3 separate regions of the Homo sapiens genome follow, and regions 2 and 3 are each linked to region 1. The links are contacts of gene promoters, found by promoter capture Hi-C in human tissues and cell types (Jung and others, 2019). All regions are on one chromosome and are shown on one strand. Each heading gives the region's core, a stretch centred on a gene start or on the middle of the fragment in contact. The rest is flanking DNA. Distances are from core to core; before and after follow the strand shown.

Evidence for each region. The method cuts DNA at HindIII sites, captures the fragments that hold promoters and counts their contacts. A contact is called where the count stands out against the background at its distance.
Region 2: a contact is called between the fragment with the promoter of APH1A here and the fragment with the promoter of MLLT11 in region 1, in 1 of the 25 tissues and cell types used here (lymphoblastoid cells).
Region 3: a fragment that was not itself captured here is called in contact with the fragment with the promoter of MLLT11 in region 1 in 1 of the 25 tissues and cell types used here (dorsolateral prefrontal cortex).

The regions. Positions count from the first base shown.
Region 1 is chr1:151,058,712-151,062,872 of GRCh38, forward strand. MLLT11 (MLLT11 transcription factor 7 cofactor) reads left to right here and starts at 1,686. Exons shown (of 2, transcript NM_006818.4): 1 at 1,686-1,842. CDC42SE1 (CDC42 small effector 1) reads right to left here and starts at 911. Exons shown (of 5, transcript NM_020239.4): 1 at 768-911. RefSeq lists an enhancer at 1,232-1,823. The HindIII fragment of the contact is 8,370 bases long and covers 1-3,258 here.
Region 2 is chr1:150,267,232-150,271,392 of GRCh38, forward strand. APH1A (aph-1A gamma-secretase subunit) reads right to left here and starts at 1,785. Exons shown (of 7, transcript NM_001077628.3): 1 at 1,467-1,785; 2 at 726-896; 3 at 485-558; 4 at 125-247. The coding sequence starts at 1,579. LOC124904414 reads right to left here. Exons shown (of 2, transcript XM_047438213.1): 2 at 1,825-2,098. The coding sequence ends at 1,825. It also overlaps a transcript of C1orf54 not described here. RefSeq lists a silencer at 1,567-2,024 and enhancers at 1,885-2,496, 2,078-2,127, 2,188-2,237. The HindIII fragment of the contact is 12,966 bases long and covers 1-4,161 here.
Region 3 is chr1:150,298,657-150,302,817 of GRCh38, forward strand. The region is part of intron 2 of MRPS21 (mitochondrial ribosomal protein S21); the gene reads left to right. Among named protein-coding and RNA genes, the nearest start is that of MRPS21, 6.9 kb to the left of the region's middle. The HindIII fragment of the contact is 5,855 bases long and covers 1-4,161 here.

The sequences.
Region 1 (4,161 bases), core at 436-2,935:
TGTTGGGAGGTGAGCAGAAGGGATGGGAAAGAGGTGCCAGGGAGGAAGGATGTACAGGCTAGTTCTCTGGTCCTGTTCGGGCCCCAAACCGGTTCTCCCGGTCCCACCGCCTCTGGCCCTAAGGCCTCCAACCCGCGGCCTGACAAGCCCTCACATGAAGCAGCTGGAGAGAAAGAAAGAATCGAGAGAATGGCATGGGCAATTCTGGCTAGAAGCCCGGGGCAGCAGCTGGTCCCTGTGTGGAGACCCCGAGACATGGAGGGCTGCTGAGGGACTCTGGAGAAGCGGTGTGGACTCCATATTTCAGCCAAGTGACAGGCCCAACACCAACCTTCCCTTCCCCAGGAAAGGTCTTCTGGGGGCTTAAGAGGAAAGAGGGCTAGGCCCTAAGCCTCCCCTCCCCAAATATATTCAATCACACAGATTCCGTATCTGTCTCCCCCCACTACACAACTCTACCTAGAAGTTCTCTGCTGTTCTCAACCCTTAACCGGACTGGGACCTCTCTGGGAATCTTTCGGACCCTCTCCCTCCCACCTCCCCCAACATTCCAGTTCCTTCTTTTCCTTCTACTCTTCAGCGGCCTCAGCCTGCGCACCCCAGGAGCGTGGATGACTACGGCCACCCCGGGCGCGCACCCCTTTCCCACCACCCCAGCATCTCTGCAGCCCAGGACACCCGCCTCCCCCACACCCCGCATCCGGTGTGTCTCCGCCTGGCCCGGCCGGCGCGGCAGGCGGGCCAGGGGACCAACTGCACGGCCTCACCTGCTCTTCTCCACCATCCAGACGTTCAGCTACAGCTGGTGGGGGTGAGGGACTCTGCTCCGTGGCCGCCAGTGTGGGCTTCCCGGGCTAGCTCTGCGGCGAGGTGGGGGAGCCGAGTACGAGCCGGCAGAGGTGGGGCCGGCTGAGGGCGGAAGCGGCGGCGACGCGATTACGAAACCCGTCCGGCTCGGAGCCCGGCGCACTGCTCCCCTCTGGACTGCGGAGGCACTGCACTGCGCGGGACGTGGGAGGGTGCCTCTGCAGCCCCTCAAGGCCGCCGCCCCTGCGGGGAGAACTGGAGAATGCGGACACCTAGATGAGGCCCTGGCACCCAAGCTGGGGCCCCCGGAATCTCACGTTCCCTTTACTCGCCAGGCATTTCGGGGCAAAACGAAGCGGAGCCCCCCAAACCCCCAGACCTAACCAAGTTCAGAGATTCGCAGAAGCACGCCCCCCACCCCAAATTTATTGTGCTCTACCCAAAATGGAATAGGACTAGGTTTATTTACCCATTGTGAGGGTAGAGAGGCGAGTCTGGAGGAGCAGGGATTGGGAGAAGGGGTGGAAAAATACTCTGATTCTTAAAAATACTTTGTAACCTAAAGTCCTTAAATTGTGGAAGAAAGGAATACTCCTCCTTTCCATTGTAGTCTAGAGTTAAGATTTCAAATCCATAAATTAGAGGACCTAAAATTAGAGGGCAATTAACTGCTCATTCATTGGGCCCCCAGTCAGCACGGGGGTGCTGGAAGAGATCGGGAATAATAGCGCAGACCAATGAGCCTAGGGAGATGCTTTCATCGTCTCTCCTTCCCTCAAGTGTTCTGGAACCTATCATTTGAATTAGCCGAGTCAGGCAGGAGGGGGCGGGGAATCCTTCCGCCCTTCTTAGGAGGGGCTGCATTGCAGGGGGAGAGTGAACTGACAGACTCAGTCACTGAAGAGGGAAAAGGAGTGAGAAGACAAAGCCGTCAAAGCCCCAACAGCTTTGTATTTCTCCAGCCCGGCGCAGACCCCGGAGCTCCCGAGGCACTCCCTCCATCTTTGGAACACGCCAGTAATTGATTGATAACAGGTAAACCAAACTGAGGGAGGGGGCAGGGGGCTGCAAAGATAGAAGAGCGGCTGCTTATGGTTAGATTGAAAGACCCCACATGAGGTGGGGGACAGCTGAAGAGGAGAGAAGGGGGCGCTATGAACAATGGGTAGTTATTTCTTCACAGCATCCATGCCTTGTTACCTTATACAGACCATTAATCTCTAACAATTTACTTGTAGTTATTTCTCAGCACCTACCTCATTTCAAGTATCCTTTTCTGTAATTTATTGTCCTGTGTATTTAATATCTTCAGTCTACTTATCTTCCTTTTCAAACCATAATTTGTTTTACCAGCTGTTTAATTTTTAGTCCTACTGTATCTCTCTGTCCTCTACTTCCCTATACTTGCAATTTTTTTCTGTAGTGTTCTATGTTTCTCTGTAGGAGGGAGTTTGGGAGGGGGTTATATGGGATAATGTTGGGTGTAATCCTGACCTTTCTTTGGATAATCTCTTTCATTCCACCTCGAATCTTTGCTCCAAAGAAAGAGGCAGCCTAGGGTAGGAAAGGTGGGGGCCTCTGTGTTGGAGAACTGCCTGATTCCATAGTGAAATCAGTATAGCCCACAGGAGCTAGGTATGGGGACAGATTCTGGAAAAGAATGATTTGCAGCTCAGTGGAATTGGTGGAGGAATGCTAGTAGGAAAATCCAAGCTCTGACTGAGGCACACATTATGAGATGTCAGAGAGGTTCTGCTCCCCTCTACCACCACCACCACCTTGTCCTTCCCCCTTCCCCATGGTGGCAGCATGACACAGCAAGGCCCTGTTGAGTAGGCCTTGGATGCCCACAAAGGGTCTGGACAAAGGATATTTGGGCGTGTCTGTGTGGCTCCGAGAGTGTATCTTTCTAATCTATACATTTGCTAATCATGTATCTCTAAGAACAGAGTGATAATTAGATATTGCCTTTGCCTAAAATACCCGGATAATTTAAAGTGAAGGATAGTGGGAAGCATTTATTGAACATATATTGTGGTACAAGGCACTGTCAAAACCCTTTAAGTAAATGATACCATTTAAGATAATGAAAGATGTAAAGATAGATGAAGTAGGGCTGGAGAGCATTTGTGGAGGGGAAGGGGAAGCTAGCCAAAAAAGGATCTTTTGCGAAATTTGGAGTATTTGATAATTAAATCCATACTATATTAAATCAAAAATGTCATTACTACTTACATTAGTGAATAGCATTTTAACTTCAATTTTCTGTGTAGTATTACTTTATGTTCTTGACTTGATTTTAATGCCACGTATGTTTGCATGCATGTCTTTCTTGAATGTATTTGGTACCCTGTGTACATGTCTCTGGGTCAATGACATAGAGATTTTAGGCCTTTTGAGTTAATATTTCATAAAATTTGCTTTAGCTTTTTAAATTGCAAGATAGCTCTACCAAACACTCAGGGACTGTTTGAGCAGTTTTTTATACATACTCTGGTTGTAAGAAAAGGAGTCAGTTTGTCGAAGAGCTTTTTTTTTTTTCTCAGATTCTAGCTTGCTCTACTGCCCTTTGCTTTTCCCCATTCAGATCACAATTACAGGAACAATCACCTAAACCACGGAAAATCTATTCTTCAGCAACTAAAAATTCTTTTAAGTTTTGGGAATACTGGTATAGGGTTATATAAAGCTGTTGGCAACTATCCATGTACAACACAAAAAGGGATCAGATTGGGAATTATGAGATCTGGATTCTATACAAACTGGCTGGAAGTCTTCCCAAGTCATTAATTTCTAAGATGTCTTCTAGTTTTAAAATTCTATGATTTTTTCCCCCCATGATTCTATTTTTTTTTTTTTTTTAAGATGGAGTCTCGCTCTGTTGCCCAGGCTGGAGTGCAGTGGTGCAATCTTGGCTCACTGCAACCTCCACCTCCCCAGTTCAAGCGATTCTCCTGCCTCAGCCTCCCGAGTAGCTGGGATTATAGGCGCCTGCCACCACACCTGGCTAATTTTTGTATTTTTAGTAAAGACGGGGTTTCACTATCTTGGCCAGGCTGGTCTCGAATTCCTGACCTTGTGATCCACCTGCCTCGGCCTCCCAAAGTGCTGAGATTACAGGCGTGTGCCACCGCGCCTGGCCCCATGATTCTATTTTTTAAAGAGCCTATAATGTGGCCTGCATTATACTAAGCTCATTCTGGAGAAGACTTGTCAGGTAGGATAGAGAAAAGAACCCAGCTAGCTGTGAAAATAACTGGTAACAGTAAGAATCCCTGTAGCCACAAGTCCATAACAGTATTGACTCCTAGGTATGCTTCTTAGAATCTCTATAGTCCCAGATTTAAGCAGTGG
Region 2 (4,161 bases), core at 535-3,034, 790 kb before region 1:
ATCCCTGATCTTCTCCCAGGCTCCTGAGATGTTGAGCCAAAGAAGTCTCTCAGGGAAGGCCAATAAATCAGATCAGGGACAAGGATGGATGGGGGGTAAAGGCTAGATAGAAGGTGGATCTTACCTGAAGTCAGGAAGTAATAGGGTGAGTCTCCATGGATCCCAACCACACCTGGCCCAAGTGCATCAGCCAAAATATTGATAACAGAGAAGACACCACTGATGATACCGAAGGAGAGACCAGAAACTGGGGGAAGGGAGGATCTCATCAATGTCAGAGATCACACTATTGCCTGTTCACCACTGACCCCTCCCCATTCCCGGTTACAATTCTTTCACATCTACTCTCCCTCCAGACCAACTTTCTTTGGAAGTGACGGATGAAGGAAAGTAAGAAGCCACTTAGAACATGTGGATATTTAGAGACTTCCCTAGAGGAGGGGGCTGTCCAACTCCCTCCTCCAGTCCCTCTCCCTTGGCTCACCATAGGCCATCTGGCGGATGGAGATGGGTGATCTTCCGTCCTCACTCAGCGATGCTAACCCCTCATCTGCCTTCCTGGGGTGGGGTGGGGTAGGGGAAACATGAGGGAGGGCAGGGATGCTCCTTTCCCTCTAATGTCCTCCCTTAGTGCCTCCTCTTCCAAACCAGCACCCAGGGGCTGCCCCACTTCCCATAGTGCAGTCCTTTGCCCCTCTCCCCTCCAGACCACTCCATCTTCTTACTTAAGCAGCTTGTAGTAGGCAAAGCGGAACACCTCCTGTAGAAGGACAGAGACAGCAGCACCAAAAATCAGGAGGCCGTACTGGAGCCGGGCATCTGACCGGTCGGTCACATGGACCAAGATGAACCAGACCACAGAGGCCAGGAGCAGGGAGACCAGCCAGAAAAATGCCCTGAGAAAAGACAGGGGCAGTGAGACAAGCAATAGTAGTGGGAGCCAGAGAAATCAAGGAGGGAAACCAGCCAAAGCTGCTTGAAAAGTGGAAGTTAGCCTTCCGGATGGTTAGGGAGACATGGACCAGGTAGGGTAACTGTCTCCACCAAGAGACTCATCTGTAGAAAAGTGAACGCACTGGAAAGGGGAGAAATCTAATTAAAGAGTCTTCAGAGCGATGACAGCCAGAGTGTGCGAGCACGGAAGGGCGAGGTATCCGTTCCTGGATCCTCCCCTAAGGCACCTGACTCGGCCTGCCTAGGTCAGCACAGCCCCCTCACGAGTCTCGGCCTTGGGCCTTCTCTGACGTCGCTGGGAGGAATATAGGAGGAATCTGTGAGATCCTTGGAAGGTGGAAACCAACTGCGGGAAAGGACAAATCTCCCAGACCCAACCCCTCACCTCCGCCCAAACTTCACCTCCGACTTATCGTCCCCAATTCAGGCTCCCAGGCTTGCCCCAGTTCCTCCAGCCCCTTCCGCACCTCTCTCTTCGACGCTCTCCCGCGTCTCCCGGGCCCTCTACTCACCCTGCGACCAGGATGATAACGCGAAGCGGGTCCCCAGCCACAGTGATCAAGAAAAGCGCGAAGGCCGGGCCGAACGCGACGAAAGTGCAGCCGAAAAACACCGCAGCCCCCATGGCTGGTCAGGTGGGAAGGGGGGTGGGGGCCTGACCAGGACAGGCAAATGGGAGGGGCGCGCCAGCTGGGGAGTCCGCGTGGGGTGGCAACGCGACCCCACGAGGGGCGCGGTGCAATGTCACCCCCAGACCCCGGGGAAGGGGAAGGGGGGGAACCGAAACCCCAAATGAAGGTCCGCGCCACTTCCTCTACGGAAGCCGAAGAGGGGACAAATCCCGGCCGCAGCCCCACGGCCACCTCCCATCTAATCCCCACCCCCGGAAGGCCAATGGAGAATCAGCGCGGGCGGAGCTGCTCGACCTGCTGGGAGTTGTAGTCGCCTTCCGAGGCCTTGACTTCGTCCTGGGAGTGGCTCGAGCCGGTTAATGGGGGTGGGCCGGGAATGGACCAGTCGAGACACCAATTCCAGGGTTCGGTTGCGCTTCCGTCGCTGTTTCCTTTCGTCACTTTGTGGGGAAAAGTGGTAGCAATCATACCTCTTCTTGAAGGGCTGCAGAGGGGGTAGATCCTGTTTGAATCTAAGGGACAAATACAAAGAGAGCACAGGATGGGGCGCAGGGAGATAGGGACGGGTATTGTTCTTACTTGAATGAGAGGAAATGGGCTAGAGCTGCTGCCTAAGAGATGAAGATTACATTAAAAAGTAGGAGCTCTTCGGACAGACTAGTATAATAAACATGGAATACAGTATATCGCTAATGAAGCCTTCATCTGTAATGACAAGAGAATCGGAGAGAAGCAAAAGGAGCCTGGAGAGAAATGTTAGGAAGGCATTTTGAAAGAGTCCGGGAGTTTAAAAGCAATTAGAGCGATGGGGTTGAAGGAAAACGACACCCCCACCCCACCCCCGCCATAAATTCCTTTTATGTCATACTTCCTCTATTTATTTTCTGAAAAATGAACCTCAGTGGTGCGTTTTCCTGAGGCTGAGAGGGGTTGTATATTAGAGTGAATGAAAGTTAAAGTAGGCTGAGCGCGGTGGCTCACCCCTGTAATCCCAGCACTTTGGGAGGCCAGGAGTTTGAGACCAGCCTGGCCAACATGGCGAAACCCCATCTCTACTAAAAATACAAAAATTAGCCAGATGTGGTGGCGCACGCCTGTAATCCCAGCTACCTGGGAGGCTGAGGGGCAAATATAGCTTGAACCCAAGAGGCAGAGGTGGCAGTGAGCTGAGATTGCGCTACTGCACTACAGCCTGGGCAACGGAGTGAGGTTCTGTCTCAAAAAAGAAAAAGAAAGTTAAGTAGGAGAGGAGGGTATTGTAATCTCATTTGGATGGGGAGAGGTTAGTCCTTAGGGAAGATGTTAGGCAAAGGAATCTGAGGATGGAAAAGAGGAAAGAAATCTGGAATATTGTTTTTGAAAGCATAATCAAAGTACCAAAAAAAACCCCACAGAAATTGTTTAAAGATAACCAAACTTCCTTTCCTTCCTGGAAGTGATTTATTATTTAATCCATATGTGCACACTCACATACATGTTTTACATGTCTTCCAGGATATTCTGGAAAGGAGCTGAGGAATAGATTGTATAGATTTACACGGAGGCTGGTCACAGTGGCTCATGCCTGTAATCCCAGCACTTTCGGAGGCCAAGGCGGCTGGATCACTTGAGGTCAGGAGTTTGAGACTAGCCTGGCCAGTGTGGTAAAACCCCATCTCTACTAAAAATACAAAAAATTAGCCAGGCATGGTGGTGCGCACCTGTAGTCCCAGCTACTCAGGAGGCTGAGCCACGAGAATAGCTTGAATCTGAGAGGTGGAGGTTACAGTGAGCTGAGATCCCACCACTGCACTCCAACCTGGGCGACAGAGCAAGACTCTGTCTCTGAAAAAAAAGAAAGAAAATATTTACATGGAAAGTCACCAGGCAAATTATTCCCTAATGAGACTAAGAGGGTAGCTGGGCGCAGTGGCTCACGCCTGTAATCCCAGCACTTTGGGAGGTCGAGGCAGGCAGATCACGAGGTCAGGAGATCGAGACCATCCTGGCTAACACGATGAAACCCCGTTTCTACTAAAAATACAAAAAATTAGCCAGGCGTGGTGGCGGGCGCCTGTAGTCCCAGCTACTCAGGAGGCTGAGGCAGGAGAATGGCGTGAACCCAGGAGGCGGAGCTTGCAGTGAGCCGAGATCGTGCCACTGCACTCCAGCCTGGGCAACAGAGTGAGACTCCGTCTCAAAAAAAAAAAAAAAAAAATTAAGAGGGTAGCGTTATCATGACCTGTGTTCAAGACTCCAGTATGTCCTGCTTCTGAGCCCAGCAGGCAGAGTAAGGTGGATAGGAATGAGACAATTCTCATGTCTTTTTTTTTTGAGATGGAGTCTCACTCTGTTGCCTAGACTGGAGTACAGTGGTGCTATCTCGGCTCACTGCAACCTCTGCCTCCCAGGTTCAAGTGATTCTCCTGCTTCAGCCTCCCTAGTAGCTGGGATTACTGGCGCCTGCCACCAAGCCCAGCTAATTTTTGTATTTTTAGTAGAGACAAGGTTTCACCATGTTGGCCAGGCTGATCTCCTGACCTCAGGTGATCTGTCCGCCTAAGCCTCCCAAAGTACTGGGATTACAGGCGTGAGC
Region 3 (4,161 bases), core at 1,228-3,727, 760 kb before region 1:
AGTGGCGCAATCTCTGCTCACTGTGACCTCCGCCTCCCGAGTTCAAGCGATTCTCCTGCCTCAGCCTCCCGAGTAGCTGGGACTACAGGCGCATGCCACTACCCCGGCTAATTTTTTGTATTTTTAGTAGAGACGGGGTTTCACCATGTTAGCCAGAATGGTCTCGATCTCCTGACCTCGTGATCTGCCCACCTCAGCCTCCCAAAGTGCTGGGATTACAGGCGTGAGCCACCATGCCCAGCTGAACCACTTCTTACAGTTGTATCAAGAGAGTAGCGGCTGGGTGCAGTGCCTCAGTCTTGTATTCTCAGCAATTTGGGAGGCTAAGAATGGTGGATCACTTGAGGCCAGGAGTTCGAGACTAGCCTGGCCAACATGGCGAAACCCCGTCTTTACTAAAAATACAAAAATTAGCCATGCATGGTGGCACAGGTCTGTAATCCCAGCTACTCCGTAGGCTGAGGCAGAAGAGCCGCTTGAACCTGGGAGGCAGAGACTGCAGTGATGCCCCATATCATATATGGAATGCATCCCCATTTACACCTAAAATTTGAAACAGAATCTGAGAAACAAAATATTTCTAATCTCCTTCCTGATCCTCTTCACTGATACCAGGTTTGCAGAAAATATAAGGCCAGCTCTTATCTTTTGAGAGAAGACTCTTATTTCTTTGTCTAAGATTGTCTATACCCCTTTTTATCTGCCTCTTTTAAAAATCCTTGTCCAGCCACTATATTTTTAATTTAATCAACACTCAGTTTTTGCTTTTCCTGTTTTTTTTTCTGTTTTTTGTTTGTTTGTTTGTTTGTTTGTTTGAGACGATGTCTCGCTCTTGTCCCCCAAGCTGGAGTGCAGTGGCATGATCTCGGCTCACTGCAACCTCCGCCTCCCAGGTTCAAGTGATTCTCCTGCCTCAGCCCCCCGTGTAGCTGGGATTACAGGCACTTGCCACCACGCCTGGCTAGTTTTGGTATTTTTAGTAGAGACGGGGTTTCACCATGTTGGCCAGGCTGGTCTCGAACTCCTGACCTCAGGTGATCCACCCGCCTCTGTCTCCCAAAGTGCTGGGATTACAGGTGTGAGCCACCACACCCAGCCCACATACTACTTTTATGGTTCTCTTTTTGTTGGTGACTGGCATTTTACACAAACCTATTTCCTGGGTCGAAGTGTTAATATTAGAGAGCCGGAGAGTGGTCAGTGTGACACCCTGTGGTTTCAACCCTGGCTGCCTATTAGGATCACCTAGGGAACGAACCATCAAGAAAACAAAACTAATGCCAGGGCCCAATCTGAGATGAATCAGAATCTCCAGGGGTTGCAACCTGGATGGCAGCATTTTAAAAAACATACCATGAGATTTCACCAGGATTGAAAATTATTATAATAGACTTGTAGCCTCCTGGCTGGGCACAGTGACTCATGCCTGTAATCCCAGCACTTTGGGAGGCTGAGGGGGGCGGATCATTTGAGGTTAGGAGTTCAAGACCAGCCTGGCCAACATGGTAAAACCCCGTCTCTACTAAAAATATAAAAATTAGCCGGGTATGATGGTGCATACCTGTAATCCCAGCTATTCGGGAGGCTGAGGCAGGAGAATCGCTTGAACCTGGGAGCTGGAGGTTGCAGTGAGCCGAGATCGCGCCACTGCACTCCAGCCTGGGTGACAAAGTGAGACCCTGTCTCAAAAAAAAAAAGGCTTGTAGCCTCCTTAAGGACAGAAACCTATGCTTTTTCATTTGTGTATCTCTTGGATTTACCAAAGTGTCTGGCACATCCAAAGCTCTCATTAAATGTCTACTTAATGAACATAAATGTTCCTTTATCTTTTTTGTCACTTATTTAATGTTTGTCAAACTTTTTTACTGAAGTGTCGTTAACAGCAGAGGAGAGTGAATGAACTATAGGGGTTCTGCTACTATAAGCAAACATGGAATTTCTTTGAAGCTTCCCTAAATTAAAATGTAAGGTGAACTTCGTATTCGTTGCCATTGCATCTGTTTTATGGGTAACACCCCCACTCCTTCGAGTTAAAATTGGTGCCTCCAGGCAGATGCATCAAATTTGTCCAGAAACTTGTATCCTTTGGCATTCTGTTAATTACCCTGGTTAAGAAGCACAGTATTACCTTTTCTTCAGGGATTAAAACACCAAAGTAGGAGTAGGATTTGGAAAAAAGCAATTTACATTGCTTAAAAAGAAAAGAATTATATTCTTTTCTTTTTAAGAAAGAAGAGGAGTGGTTAGAAAAATAAATTTGGCCAGGCGCGGTGGCTCACCCCTGTAAGCTCAGCACTTTGGGAGGCCGAGGCGGGTGGATCATCTGAGGTCAGGAGTTCAAGACCAGCCTGGCCAACATGATGAAACCCTGTCTCTACTAAAAAAAATACAAAAATTGGCCGGGCGCGGTGGCTCATGCCTGTAATCCCAGCACTTTGGGAGGCTGAGGGGGGCGGATCACGAGGTCAGGAGATCGAGACCATCCTGGCTAACACAGTGAAACCCCGTCTCTACTAAAAATACAAAAAATTAGCTGGGCGCCGTGGCGGGCGCCTATAGTCCCAGCTACTCGGGAGGCTGAGGCAGGAGAATGACGTGAACCCGGGAGGCGGAGCTTGCAGTGAGCCAAGATGGCGCCATTGCACTCCAACCTGGGGGACGAGAGCGAGACTTCGTCTCAAAAGAAAAAAAATTAGCCGGACATGGTGGCAGGTGCCTGTAATCCCAGCTACTCAGGAGGCTGAGGCAGGAGAATCGCTTGAACCCAGGAGGCGGAGGTTCCAGTGAGCCGAGATCGCGCCATTCATTGCACTCCAGCCTGGGGGACGAGAGCGAGACTTCGTCTCAAAAAAGGAAAAGAAATTCAAGTCCCATAGACTCAGAGTCCCATAAATTGTATTATAGCTTCGCGGGGCAGGGGGGAAATGAACAAATATTTCAGTCTTAGAATAATTTTCTTTTTCCTTTCTTTTTTTTTTAATACGGAGTCTCTCTCTGTTGCCCAGACTGCGTGGTCTCGCCTCACTGCAACCTCTGTCTCCCGGGTTCAAGTGATTCTCCTGCCTCAGCCTCCCGAGTAGCTGGGATTACAGGCACCTGCCACCACGTCCGGCTAATTTTTTGTAGTAGAGACGGGGTTTCACGATGTTGGCCAGGCTGGTCTCAAACTCCTGACCTCATGATTGGCCCGCCCGGCCTCCCAAAGCGCTGGGATTACAGGGGTGAGCCACCGTGCCCGGCCTCTTAGAATAATTTTCTAGGTAAGGACTTTCAAGCTTGCATACGTGAGCAGACTGATTTTGGAGTGATCCAATCTTCTGTTTTCCTGCTGCCTGTTAAACACATTTTCTGACTGATGCACTTTTCTGTTTCTTCTTTTTCTCTGCTTTTCCCAAATGTCCTCTCTCTAGCCACTTTTTCTGTATATCTTTCTCACACTCCAGGCCTCTCCTGATCTCTTTCAGCTTTCTCATAGCTGGTAGTTTAAAAATAATTTGCTTGTTCTGTGGTCTAATTACAACAATAGGTAGGAGAGCAAATGAGTCTAGAGGGAGGTGATTAAAGCTTTACCATGTTTGGAGTACAGAGAGAGTCTTACAAAGGAAATAGCCTACGTGTCTGTCCAGTGAGGCCACCACAAAATGCCTGTTATATAACTGGGGGCCCTCATTGGTGCCCCGGGATGAGAAGGTGGAGAGTGGGGGTTGCTAGGAAGCCCTGCATGATTGGCTGGCCCCCAAGCAAAGAAAGGTGAGTACACTGGAAGCATGCCCTGTTGACTCCTTTTACTCCTAGTGGGCTACCTTCTGGGTCCATTGAGTCCTTCTGCATACACGTCTGTCCTGACGTAGACTGGCTACACTGACATGTGAGTCTGCCACCCGCACCTCCCCCCGCTCCAGGCAGCTTGGCTCCTTTTACATAATCATTTGAATTTCACTAAAACTGGCAGCTGGTTTCTCCTTCAGTATTAGGTTGCCAGGCGCCCGAACTCCAGGCTGATCTGTTTACTCTAAAGCTCTTGATGTACTAGTCCTTGAACTACTTTTGGAAGCAGAAGGAAGCATCATTAGTAACACCCCCTCTATTCTTGTGTTTTACAAAGCTTTTCTTGCATCCTTTTCTGTTAGAGGTAAAGTTGAGTAGATACCTCTACTATAG